Linked DNA regions of Homo sapiens: region 2 is linked to region 1. Evidence: promoter capture Hi-C in 16 types of primary human blood cells and fetal thymus (Javierre and others, 2016). All regions are on one chromosome and are shown on one strand. Each heading gives the region's core, a stretch centred on a gene start or on the middle of the fragment in contact. The rest is flanking DNA. Distances are from core to core; before and after follow the strand shown.

The links. The method cuts DNA at HindIII sites, captures the fragments that hold promoters and counts their contacts. A CHiCAGO score of 5 or more calls a contact.
Region 2: a contact is called between the fragment with the promoter of H1-6 here and the fragment with the promoter of H4C6 in region 1, in 1 of 17 cell types (monocytes). The highest score is 5.4, in monocytes.

The regions. Positions count from the first base shown.
Region 1 is chr6:26,236,401-26,242,683 of GRCh38, reverse strand. It overlaps H4C6 (H4 clustered histone 6), which reads right to left and starts at 2,291. Exons shown (of 1, transcript NM_003540.4): 1 at 1,891-2,291. The coding sequence starts at 2,258. The coding sequence ends at 1,947. RefSeq lists enhancers at 2,055-2,104, 2,565-2,664. The HindIII fragment of the contact is 5,393 bases long and covers 1-4,171 here.
Region 2 is chr6:26,105,828-26,112,110 of GRCh38, reverse strand. H1-6 (H1.6 linker histone, cluster member) reads left to right here and starts at 3,976. Exons shown (of 1, transcript NM_005323.4): 1 at 3,976-4,699. The coding sequence starts at 4,018. The coding sequence ends at 4,641. The HindIII fragment of the contact is 5,524 bases long and covers 1-4,349 here.

The sequences.
Region 1 (6,283 bases), core at 1,042-3,541:
CAGATAGCTTAATTTCATTGATTCCTTCAGTCATTGCACAAACATTTATGAACTAAATACTACATCCTGAGGATACTAAATTAAAGACATTGTTCAAGACCTGAAAATATCTTGGGAAGAGGGCAAGAATTACTCCCAACTATTTAAGTGTGCAGTAGCTCCTAAGTCGTATAGGGAATTCTGAAGTAGGGCTAGGGACATGTGTAGAGTGTGCTTCGTGAATTGTAAGGAAACCCCAGACACCGATTTTGCCCATAGGAATCAGGTAAAGGCTTCTTGAAGAGGAAACCCCAAGTTGAAGAATATTTGTGGAACAGTGTATGTAATGAATTACCATTGACAAAAAAAGAACAGATGAGAAGCCACTTCTTCGGTATGGTGAAAAAATGAAAACGTTAGGAGTCAGGATCGCGGGTGATAACCGGGTAGGTTGACAAAGCACAAGGAGAAACACTTTGGGTTATAAATTACCAGTACTTGAGAAATAAAGCAGTAAAATTATCAATGACCTGAAATCACAGTAAGTGCCCCAACAAAGAATTCACTGGGTAAGACAAAAACTTGGGCTTTTTTTTTTCTTTTTGAGACGGAGCCTTGTTCTGTGCCCCAGGCCTGGAGTGCAGTGGCGCGACCTCGGCTCACTGCAACCTCAGTCTCCCGGGTTCAAGTGATTCTCCTGCCTCAGCCTCCCGAGTAGCTGGGACTACAGGCGCGTGTCACCACGTCTACGTCTAATTTTTGTATTTTTAGTAGAGACGAGGTTTTGCAGTGCTAGCCAGGCTGGTCTCGAACTCGTTGAGCTCAAGTGATCCACCCACCTCGGCCTCCCAAGCTGCTGGAATTACAGATGGGATTGCAGACATGAGCCACCGAGCCCGGCCAAACTTTACTTTTTTTTTTTTTTTTTTGAGGCATGGTCTCTGTCGCCCAGGCAGGAGTGGAGTGGCACCATCTCAGCTCACTGAAATCTCCGCCTCCCGTGCTCAAGCGATTCTCCTGCCTCAGCCCTTGCAGATTAGCTGCGACAGCAGGCGTCCGCCACAACGCCGGGCTAACTTTCCTATTTAACTTTTTTAGTTGAGACGGAGTTTCACCATTTTGGTTGCCCAGGCTAGTCTCGAACTCCTGAGCTCTAGTAATCCGCCCGCCGTGGTCTCCCAAGGTGCTGTGATTCAGGCCTGAGGCACCGCGCCCGGACACAAGTAGTGGATTAAGTTTACCAGTAATTGATCTGTCCACAGCCGCCCTAAGATTACTCACGTTCTATGCCTAATAAATAACACTAAGGCCGGGCACGGTGGCTCACGCCTGCAATCCCTGCACTTTGGGAGGCCAAGAAGGGCGGATCACCTGAGGTCGGGAGTTCGAGACCAGCCAGACCAACACAGAAAAGCCCCTTCTGTACTAAAAATAAAAAATTAGCCAAGCGTGGTGGCGCATGCCTGTAACCCCAGTTACTCGGGAGGTTGAGTCAGGAGAACCGCTTAAACCCGGGAGGGGGTGGTTGCGGTGAGCCGAGATTGCGTCATTGCACTACAGCCTGGACAAGAGCAACTCCATCTCAAAAACTAAACATGTAATGCTAGTGTAGTTAAGTCCCAGCCACCTAACATAGGAGTAAATTTCAGAAACGTGGGAATAAAACACATCACATACGTCATAAAAGGCTGCTGGTATTCCCAAACCATTTCCACCATCTTTTCCTGTGAATGTTTGCGATCGAAATACCTGAACAAGTTTCTAATGTTTCGCCTTCCCTTTCTCCTTAGCACATCCGCCATCTTAGGAAGATCGCTAAAAACGGCTCGGTTTAACTCAGTTAGAATCCCAAATTTACAAAACGAAACCCAAGTCGTCATCAGTTACAGCCCTTCGTGTGACGAAGGAGGTGGCCCTGAAAAGGGCCTTTTATGGGTGAGCTGTTAAATAAAAAGCCGGGGTGAGGCTCAGCCACCAAAGCCGTACAGAGTGCGTCCCTGGCGCTTGAGCGCGTAGACAACATCCATTGCAGTGACTGTCTTACGCTTGGCGTGCTCCGTGTAGGTTACGGCGTCCCGTATCACATTCTCCAGGAACACCTTAAGAACACCGCGGGTCTCCTCATAAATGAGGCCCGAAATGCGTTTCACGCCGCCGCGTCGGGCCAAGCGACGGATGGCGGGCTTCGTGATGCCCTGTATGTTGTCACGCAGCACTTTGCGATGGCGCTTGGCGCCTCCCTTTCCTAAACCTTTACCACCTTTGCCTCTACCAGACATGATCGAAGACAAACAACAACTCTTAACTTTTGCAACTTTGCTACACACTGAAGCCCCTTATATATCAATTATGCGGACCTTTTTGGAGACTGAATTGGAGGGGCGGGAACGAAACCTCTGTCTCCGCCTTTTCCGTAACTTACTGGGCGTCCCCTACACTATTGCCTTGGGAAGGAAAGGGGGCGGTGAGGGTAGGGGAAATGCAAGTTGATTTGACTCCTTCCTGTTTCCTTGTTTGGGTCTTGAGTGTAGGTTTCTGTGTCTTCTAGTCCAGTGCCTGTGGGCTCTCGAACTGATAATGTCTGTCTCCTAAAATCCTTATTATTTGCAAAAAGGAGGCAGTAACGCTACACTTGTCTACCGAATGGATAGACAAGAGAATAAAATTATTATTTCTTTTGAAACAGTTTTGCTCTGCCCCAGACTGGAGTGCAGTGGCGTGATCTCGGCTCACTGCAACCTCCGCCTCTCGGGTTCGAGCGATTCTTCTGCCTCAGCCCCTGCAGTAGCTGCAACTACAGGCGCGCGTCACCACGCCCGGCTAATTTTTGTATTTTTAGTAGAGATGGGGTTTCGCCATGTTGACTAGGCTGGTCTCGAACTCCTGACCTCAGGTGATCCACCCGCCTCGGCCTCCCAAAGTTCTGGGATTACAGGCGCCTAGCTTTAATTTTTAAATGTGAAGATTCTTTGAAAATGTATTTTTACTAATTTTTTTTTTTTGATACGGGGTCTCACTCTGTTGCCCAGGCTGGAGTGCAGTGGCGCTATCTCGGCTCACTGCAACCTCCGCCTTCTGGGTTCAAGCGATTCTCATGCCTCAGCCTCACGAGTAGCTGTGATTTCAGGCACGCGTCGCCACACCTGGGTAATTTTTGTATTTTCTTAGTAAAGACGGGGTTTCGCCATGTTGGCCAGGGTGGTCTCGAACTCCTGACTTCAGGTGATCCACCCACCTTGGCCTCACAAAGTGCTGGGATTACTGGCGTGAGCCACCACGCCCGGCCATTTTTATTAATTCTTAAAATGTAGCAATACTTCTTAAATTTGGCCAATCATGAGACTTAGCGTTTGGCAGAGACATATACATTCACATCGTTTTTGGCATTCCTAATAAAGAAAGACCTCTAGTAAGGGAAACCAATATTAATTGAAGTTTCATTCTTAGTTTTTCAATGTATAATGCAATATCTGAGGTGTAAAGATAAGGAATCCCAGGCTTGAAGACATTATCCTCTAATAAATGGCATTGTATTGTTGGCTCGATTCTGGAGTCTCACTACCTTGCTACCTACCACTGCTTTCATGCCACTAAAGCATACATGGTAAATCATGGTGAATAAAGGTTTGTAAATTAACAAAAATAATACTAATAAATTCTGTGAAATACTGTCCTAATAAAAGATTCCGGAAGAAGTGTTCTACACACAGATCATAGGGTATGTGTAGTAGAAAAATTCAACATTAACTCTTACAGTCTACTGCTTCACATTCATTGCCTCCTATATACTGCAAGGGTAACTTAAAAATCCCGTCTCTGCTGGTGCCTAAAAGCAGTGAGAAGATTATTCATTTTGTGGAGTTAAGAGTCTACTTAAATTTTGGCTTAGGTTCAGTTACCTGTAGGAATAGACACAAGGATCTCAAGTGCTCTCCTTTTTGAGGTAGGCACCAAACAAGCATCATTCATTCATTCAACAATTTAATGTCCACTACATGCCAAGAATAGTGTACAAATACCAGGTTTACAAAGATAATCACATTTATTCTCTTAAAGAACTCAAAAGTTTAGTAAAGGGAAAAGTACACTCAGGGTTAGGGGGCAGATATCAGACCAGCATACTTCTACTTACTGTCAGGTATTTAAGGGCGGAGCAGCCATATCCCAGCTATACTGGCATCACTCTGAAGCTTGTTAGACATACAGAATTTCGGGCCCAACCCCAAATCAATGGAATTGATATTACATTTTTAATGAGATCTCTAAGTGGGTGGTAGGTATGCTCTTCCAAGTTTGAGAATAATTGTTTTAAAGCTCTGCTGTCCTATATTAGCCACTAGCAACATGTGCTCATTTTTATTTAAATTAATTTAAATTAAAAATTAATTTGCACACTTACTCTAGCCACATTACGGTACTCAGTAGCCACATATGGTTAGTGGCTACCTATTGGACAGTGTTAATACAGAATATTTTTATCATCGCAGAAAGTTTTATTGGGCTGTATCTGTGATAAGGGGGTTTCTTCTGAAGAGCTTCTAATCCAGTCTAGAAGGGAGGAGGGAGTTTGGTGGATGCCTGAGACATGTAAAGAGAAAACTGTAAGTTTGAGTATAGTAGTGGCCTTCTTAGGAAATAAAATTAACACAATACTGTTGTACTTGAAGAGGAATTTCAAGGAGCCAGTGTCCTCAGGTAAGACTACCTCATAGACGGTTACAATCGATGTGATTTCTCATGGACTTTTTGAACACGTTTGATTCTAACACAAAGCTTTATTTTCTATAATAGTCTATATATGTTTTCACCCCTTTTAATATTTATTCTATATAGTTTCTTTTTTTTTTTTTGGAAATCTTTAAAATCTGAATTGTGTGATGCTTAAGCACAGTGTCACTGGATTGATCTATTGAATACTACCTACAACTCTCATAGTCATTTACTATGGTGGTGGTGGGGATGGGGGAGTTAACACAAAATGAAGAGAACACTGGGCCTTAAGTTAGATAGCTATCACTTATCTAACTAGTTTTTCCTAGCTACTTTTTGCATCTATAAAATAAATGGTTCCAACCTCAGTGTAATGGGAAATCTACTGTTTTAGATTATATTCAGATTTAGGATTCCAAAGCAACACAGAACTCTTTTTGAGGGCTACCAAAGTAATAGGTGAAACTTTGCAGGACTTCAAGTTTACAGTCCATGGGGTGATCCAGCTTTCAGGAACCTTGTCCTTGCTACAATTACAGAGAAGATAAGTACCAGGTCCCAACTTATGTAGCCTAGCCCCTTTCCTCTTTGAACATCTGGCGAACTTTGTTGGTGAAACTGAGTCTCAGTTATTGCCCTCCAGAAAGAGCAGAGATTAGTTAGCCCAATGCCTTTTTACTTACTGAGATCCTAAGTAGCTATGGGAACCAGTCAGTGTTGCACAAGAATGAAATGGTGGCATCTGTTAATTGACTATATCTAACACGGTGAACAATTCCAACAATTATTCAACAACTATTAAGACTACAATAATGATCAAAATAATAAACAGTAAACAATCTGAATTTTAATTGTACCTTTACGTCTAGGCAATATAAAGCTATGGTCCCAAAAAAAAATACTTAGAGTATGCTTGTGACTATCACTGTTGAAAATGATATCCATAATGATGCACCGCCCCTGCCTCCAGAAACCTATAAAATGCTTCCCTACTGGAATTGTGGGGTCCTACTAATCCAATTCTATAAGTTTAGCTTTTTTATAAACCACATTTGTATTTCAGTGGTGTATAACACGGTCTTAAGTCCCAGAGACTTGTTTCTAATACATGCAAGAGAGTAAATAATTACTTAAGACAAGCTTAGTAATTTTTTTTTTTGAGATGGAATTTCACTCTTGTTGCCCAGGCTGGAGTGCAATGGCACTATCTTGGCTCACTGCAACCTCCGCCTTCCGGGTTCAAGCGATTCTCCTACCTCAGCCTCCCAAGTAGCTGGGATTACAGGCGTGTGCCACCATGCCCGCCTAATTTTTGTATTTTTAGTATAGACAGGGTTTCACCATGTTGGTCAGGCTGGTCTTGAACTCCTGACTCAGGTGGTCTGCCCAGCATGGCCTCACAAAGTGCTGGGATTACAGGCGTGAGCCACTGCGCCTGGCCAAGACAAGCTAAGTAATTTTTATGAAATTAGTTGAATGAGGAGAGATGACATCTTTAAAGTTGATTATTTTATCTAGGATTTATATGAAAAAATCCTCTAATCACTATTGAGTGTAGGCCAGAATAACTTGATTTTTTGAAATGAGTATTTTT
Region 2 (6,283 bases), core at 2,727-5,226, 130 kb after region 1:
AACAGAGAGGACACCTTCTCTGCTATACTCTCTCAGTGATTTCCCTGCCTTGGGGTCAATTATTGTCTTGGACATTGATTTAAGCACATAATAATTGTTGTCATTGCTTATGTTTGGATTTCATCTCCCAAAATAGATGGTAAATTCTTTAGTTTAGAGACCAAGTAATACTTAAAAAAAAATTTTGTGTGTGTGTGTGTGTTTTTTCTGTGTCTCTCAGCCCTGTAATAGCATCGTACTTACACTTGTTAGATTTTTAGAGACAACTTTTACAAAACATGGAATTATCTACATACCCTTTCTACAAAACAGACAAATTAAATACTCAGTAGTTGAACCAAAAAAAGCAGTTCAAATAAAATACTTGAAAATGAAGAAATCATTTGAACAGAGTTAAAGTTAATCGTAAAATAATGTCTGTAAAAATTATTGCCAATCAAATATAAAGTTCAAAAATAGTGCTTGAAAAAGGAAGAATCATATGAAAAGGGACTACTCATTTTAAAAATGTTAGATATCAGGAAAAGCCAAGAAGTGAGTATGGTAAGAGTGCTGTCAAGTGAAACCCTGCTAATCTCACTGAACATGTAAAAATCTGTAGATGCCTTTATTTTATTCACTCACACACATATGTAGAAAGAGAAATATATGGTAAACATTAAAAAAACCAAATTAGAATGTAAAATTAATACTTTAAAAAATGGGCTGTATACTTTTCTTATCACCGGAGATAAGAATTTATTATTTTTAAAATAAAGTTATTTTCTCTGTGACTGTTTCCATGACTTTGCTACTTAGAAGTTAGAGATGCCAAAGTTTATCTAAGAAAATGTTTATGGAAATATTATTTCAATAATGAATGTTTAGAAGACTGAATTTCCTGACTGGGCGCAGTGGCTCATGCCTGTAATCCCAGCACTTTGAGAGGCTGAAGAAGGAGGATCGCTTGAGTCCGGGAGTTCAAGAGCATCCTGGGCAACACAGCGAGACCCTGCAGCAAAGTAAAAAGAAAAAAGAATTGAAAAAGGAAGACTGAATTTCCTTTGGGCAAGTCATGTGACATTCCTGTGCCTCAGTTTCTTCATCTATAAAGTTAATTCCTACATTTTTGGGGAAGGGAGAGAAAAACTTAGGATAGTGACTGGCACAGAAGAAGCACTATATACTATATATATGTGGATATCATTTGTTTTTATGGTACCATTTTAGCTATCTAATGCAAAATATGAATCTTTTTTTTCTGGGTCTTAAATTATGGAATGTAAGAATTTTCTAAATTCTCTAATTCTGTGTTAGTTTTAAAGCAATGGAGTAACGTATCTGTCAACTTGTAAATATAAGGATCAACCTGATCCACAATTTGACCCCTAGCCACTAATATTTAATAGTACAACACTCAGAAATTATCAAAGGTCAGAGAAGCCAAACAAATGTAAAAACATACAGGTGCTCAGAAAGATGCACCTGTAATCTCTCTAAGGAGAAATATTTTCCAAACTGAGTGACACGGTGCTTTAGTGAGTTGTGGAATCAATCTCATGATTTCCAACCTAGTGTTCTTTTAAAAATGAACTAGTCCACAGTAGAATATACTAAAGTGCTGGTGCTTAAGATAGTATTGTTTTCTGGAAAAAAAAAAAAAATTTTTTTTTTTTGAGACAGGGTCTCGCTCTTGCCCAGGCTGAAGTGCAGTGGCACAATCATGCTCACTGCAGCCTTGACCTCCTGGGCCCAAGTGATTCTCCCACCTCAGCCTTTTGAGTAACTGGGACCACAGGTACGTGCCACCACACCCGGGTAATTTTTTAATTGTAGAGACAGGGTCTTGCTATGTGCTTAGGCTGGCCTTGTGAACTCCTGGGCTCTAGTGATCCACTAGCCTCAGCCTCCCAAATTTATGGGATTATAGGCATGAGCCACCCTACCTGGCCTGTTCCCTGAATTTTTTTTTCTTTCAGGTGTTTGTGCATATGTGTGTGTGTATGGGTATAACAGAGAGACAGAGAGAAAGAAACTTTTCTATCTCACTTTGCAATCAGAAGTTTGAAGTCTTATCTTTTGGCTTTTGTTTCAGAAATATTTCAAATGTAGACTCTCTCCTTTACCACACTGTCCCCTTAGGCAAGGTCTTTGCCATTCTTCTGAGACTATTGCAACAGACTCCCAACTTCTGACTGTGGGCCCTTCTCAAAAATGATTGTTTATGCAATAAATCTAAACCCAAGACAACTACAACAATACAACAAATTCTCTGCTTAAAAACTTCCAATGTCTGCCGGGCGCGGCGGCTCACGCATGTATTCCCAGCACTTTGGAGGCAGAGGCGGGCAGATCACTTGAGGTGGGGAGTTCGAGACTAGCCTGGCCAACATGATGAAACCCCATCTCTACTAAAAATACAAAAAATTAGCCAGGCATGGTGGTGGGCGCCTATAATCCCAGCTAATTGGGAGGCTGAGGCAGGAGAATTGCCTGAACCTGGGAGGTGGAGGTTGCACTGAGCCAAGATCACACCATTGCACTCCAGCCTGGGCAACAAGAGCAAAACTCTGTCTCAAACCAAACCAAAACAAAACTTCTAATATCTACCAAATGTTTCACACAAGTATTTGGGGATCTTCACAAATGGCCCTTATGGAGTTTTCCTTTGCTGAGACCCTATGCTCTGGCCACACTAAACTCATTCAGCATCCCAGAAAGGCCTCAGCCTTTGTGAGCAAGCTCTTATCTCCAGGCCTCTCACAAAGACCTGTTCCAGTAGAAGCTCAGGGGAGCACACTGGACATTATTCCAACAACCCTTTCCCCACAGCTATGCAGCCAAATCTGCCAGCTCAGTTAATTAATTAAGCAATTCAGAGATGAGGGTCTGCCCAGGCTGGAGTGCAGTAGCTGCGACCTCAAGCTCCTGGGCTCTAAGTGATCCTCTTCAGTCTACCCAGAAGCTGGGACTGCAGGCATGTGCCACCACACCCAGCTAATTTTTTTTTTTTTCAGTAGGGACCAGGCCAACCTAGTCTTGAACTCCTGGCCTCCAGCCTTCCGAAGTGCTGTAATTACAGGCATGAATCACTGCGCCCAGCCAACCCGCCCAGTCTTGTTAGACATGGGGTCTGTAGTTTCTAGTAGGTTCTTGAGTCTAGGGTTCCTACCTCATGTTTTATAGTTAATTTAGGGGAGGGACTGTGTCTGTTTATCTGGGGATGTAGGGGTGGGCAGGGGGATAGAGGGGACTTCAATTAATGAAACCAGAAGCAAAACTCAGTTGAGGACACCGGTCATGAGAGTGGCCTGATTATGGCCAATCTTACATAATGTGTGAGATCTTGATATTACCCCATCCTTGAGAGTCCTCTATAAAGCTACAGGGACTTGGGAGCACCTTTAATTACAGACAACCCATGTTCCTGTGGATTATGATTTATTAGATTGCACATGCCTAAATAAAGACATCCTCTGCAGTCTTTTGACAATTCTATAAGCATCTTCTGACTCCGCAATTAGACAGCTAAGAGATCTGTGTTACTTCCCTCACATATATAAATAATTTTAAATAAAAATCATGGCGTGAATAATTTCTTTCCTCTACCGATTTGAAGCTATCCATTTGGAAGACCACTCTGAAGAGATGAAATAAGTCTTCTGCCAAAGATTACTTATTAATTTACAAGGAAAAGGGGAAGTTTTGTTCCTCTCCGTGAATTTGATTGAAAATCGAGGGCTTTCTCGAATAGTTTTGGCATCCAGGGTCATTTTTCATTAAAAAGAGAAAAGTCATGTCAAATATGAATTTCCGCAGATTATTCAGCACTAGACCCTGGGAGATTCTGTAAAGAGGGGTTTTGTTATACTCAACTTTTCCGGGTAAAACAAACACAAATACTCCTCCTCCAAGGGGCGGGGGCGGTGCCTAGGTGATGCACCAATCACAGCGCGCCCTACCCTATATAAGGCCCCGAGGCCGCCCGGGTGTTTCATGCTTTTCGCTGGTTATTACATCTTGCGTTTCTCTGTTGTTATGTCTGAAACCGTGCCTGCAGCTTCTGCCAGTGCTGGTGTAGCCGCTATGGAGAAACTTCCAACCAAGAAGCGAGGGAGGAAGCCGGCTGGCTTGATAAGTGCAAGTCGCAAAGTGCCGAACCTCTCTGTGTCCAAGTTGATCACCGAGGCCCTTTCAGTGTCACAGGAACGAGTAGGTATGTCTTTGGTTGCGCTCAAGAAGGCATTGGCCGCTGCTGGCTACGACGTAGAGAAGAATAACAGCCGCATCAAACTGTCCCTCAAGAGCTTAGTGAACAAGGGAATCCTGGTGCAAACCAGGGGTACTGGTGCTTCCGGTTCCTTTAAGCTTAGTAAGAAGGTGATTCCTAAATCTACCAGAAGCAAGGCTAAAAAGTCAGTTTCTGCCAAGACCAAGAAGCTGGTTTTATCCAGGGACTCCAAGTCACCAAAGACTGCTAAAACCAATAAGAGAGCCAAGAAGCCGAGAGCGACAACTCCTAAAACTGTTAGGAGCGGGAGAAAGGCTAAAGGAGCCAAGGGTAAGCAACAGCAGAAGAGCCCAGTGAAGGCAAGGGCTTCGAAGTCAAAATTGACCCAACATCATGAAGTTAATGTTAGAAAGGCCACATCTAAGAAGTAAAGAGCTTTCCGGGAGGCCAATTTGGAAAGAACCCAAAGGCTCTTTTAAGAGCCACCCACATTATTTTAAGATGGCGTAACACTGGAAACAAGTTTCTGTGACAGTTATCTATAGGTTTAAGTTGTGATGCAGCTGAGTTGAAAAGGCTTGAGATTGGAGAATTAATTCAGGCCAGGCTTCAAGACCATCCTGGGCAACATAGCCAGACTACCATCTATACCAGGGGTCCTCATTTCCCCGGCCACCGACCGGTAACCGGTCCCTGTCCATGGCACGTTATGAATTGAGCCGCACAGCTGAGGGGTGAGCGAACATTAACCAACTGAGCTCCACCGCCTGTCAGGTTAGCTGCAGCATTAGATAGATTCTCATAAGCTCAAACTGTATTGTGAATGGCACATGCAAGGGATCTAGGTTTCAGGCTCCTTGTGACAATCTAATGCCTGATGATCTGAGGTTGGAGCAGTTTTAGTCCGGAAATCATTGCTCCCAGCCCCTGCACCCCCTGGTCCGTGGTATAATTGTCTTACACAAAACGGTCTCTTGTGTCAAAAAGGTTGGAGACTACTGGTTTTACAAAAAAGTAAATTAGTCAAGCATGGTTGGCACGCTCCCTTAGTCCCTGCACCCAGGCGTTTAAGGATACAGTGAGCTATGATGGTGCTACCTCACTCCAGCCTGGGTGACAGCGAGTCAGACGTTGTCTCAAAACTTAAAAAAAAAAAAAGTTAAAACAGAAAAAGGGCTTCTTGTCAGAGACTGCCGTATATCTAGAGGTCCAGGAACTAAAAAGTCTGATGTCCAATCCTGAAAAGCTCGATGGTGCACTAGAGGAGGCTTTTACATGTAAGAGCATCTAAGTTCTGGAAATGCCAGTGTCAGGGAAGGGAAGTGGAGAGCAATTTGGCATCCAAACATAACTTGCTGATACTTTTTTTTTTTTTAACACAAGTACTACATTCTAGTCTTTCTGTGGTGTCATTGTAACTATTGTTTCTTAATATGCTATCCACTGACTTCAAGGGATCAATAAATAGGAATCAAGGTGTCCCAGAATATGGATTAGGGGAGTTTTTTTGTTGTTGTTGTTGTTGTTGTTTTTCATCTATTCATTATCCTGTAGCTGAAATTTAGAATTTTCTTCCATTGTGTGTGACTGATAGAAATAACAAATTTGTAGGTTATAGTTGTTGCAAGAATCTGGAAATCGTGCTTGCTTATTTCCGAAGTACTATTAGGTATATCAACAAAAACACACATATTACGGTCAAGTGGTTTGATAATTATTTTAATATTATTGGTCTAATACAATTGTAACCCTATGAATTACTTTAAGTATCTTATTTATGAAAAGAATCTGTAAGTTTCATCAGACTACCAGAGCATACCGAAGACTGAAAAATTTTAAGAATCCAAACCTTAATGGAAATGTTGGAGGCTGCCCAATTAGGTTCTGAATTCCACCTTCCTGAATCACAAACTTGTTTTAACTCTCAGTCTGAGGTAAACTACGTTTCTCTTTAAACAGACATAGTTTAATTTTCCTTTGATTTTTGATTTAGTATTCTTACTGATCATCATAAATAACCAATGCTAATGTTAGTCTACTTTGGACCATGGTATTTCGAGAAACTTTGAACAA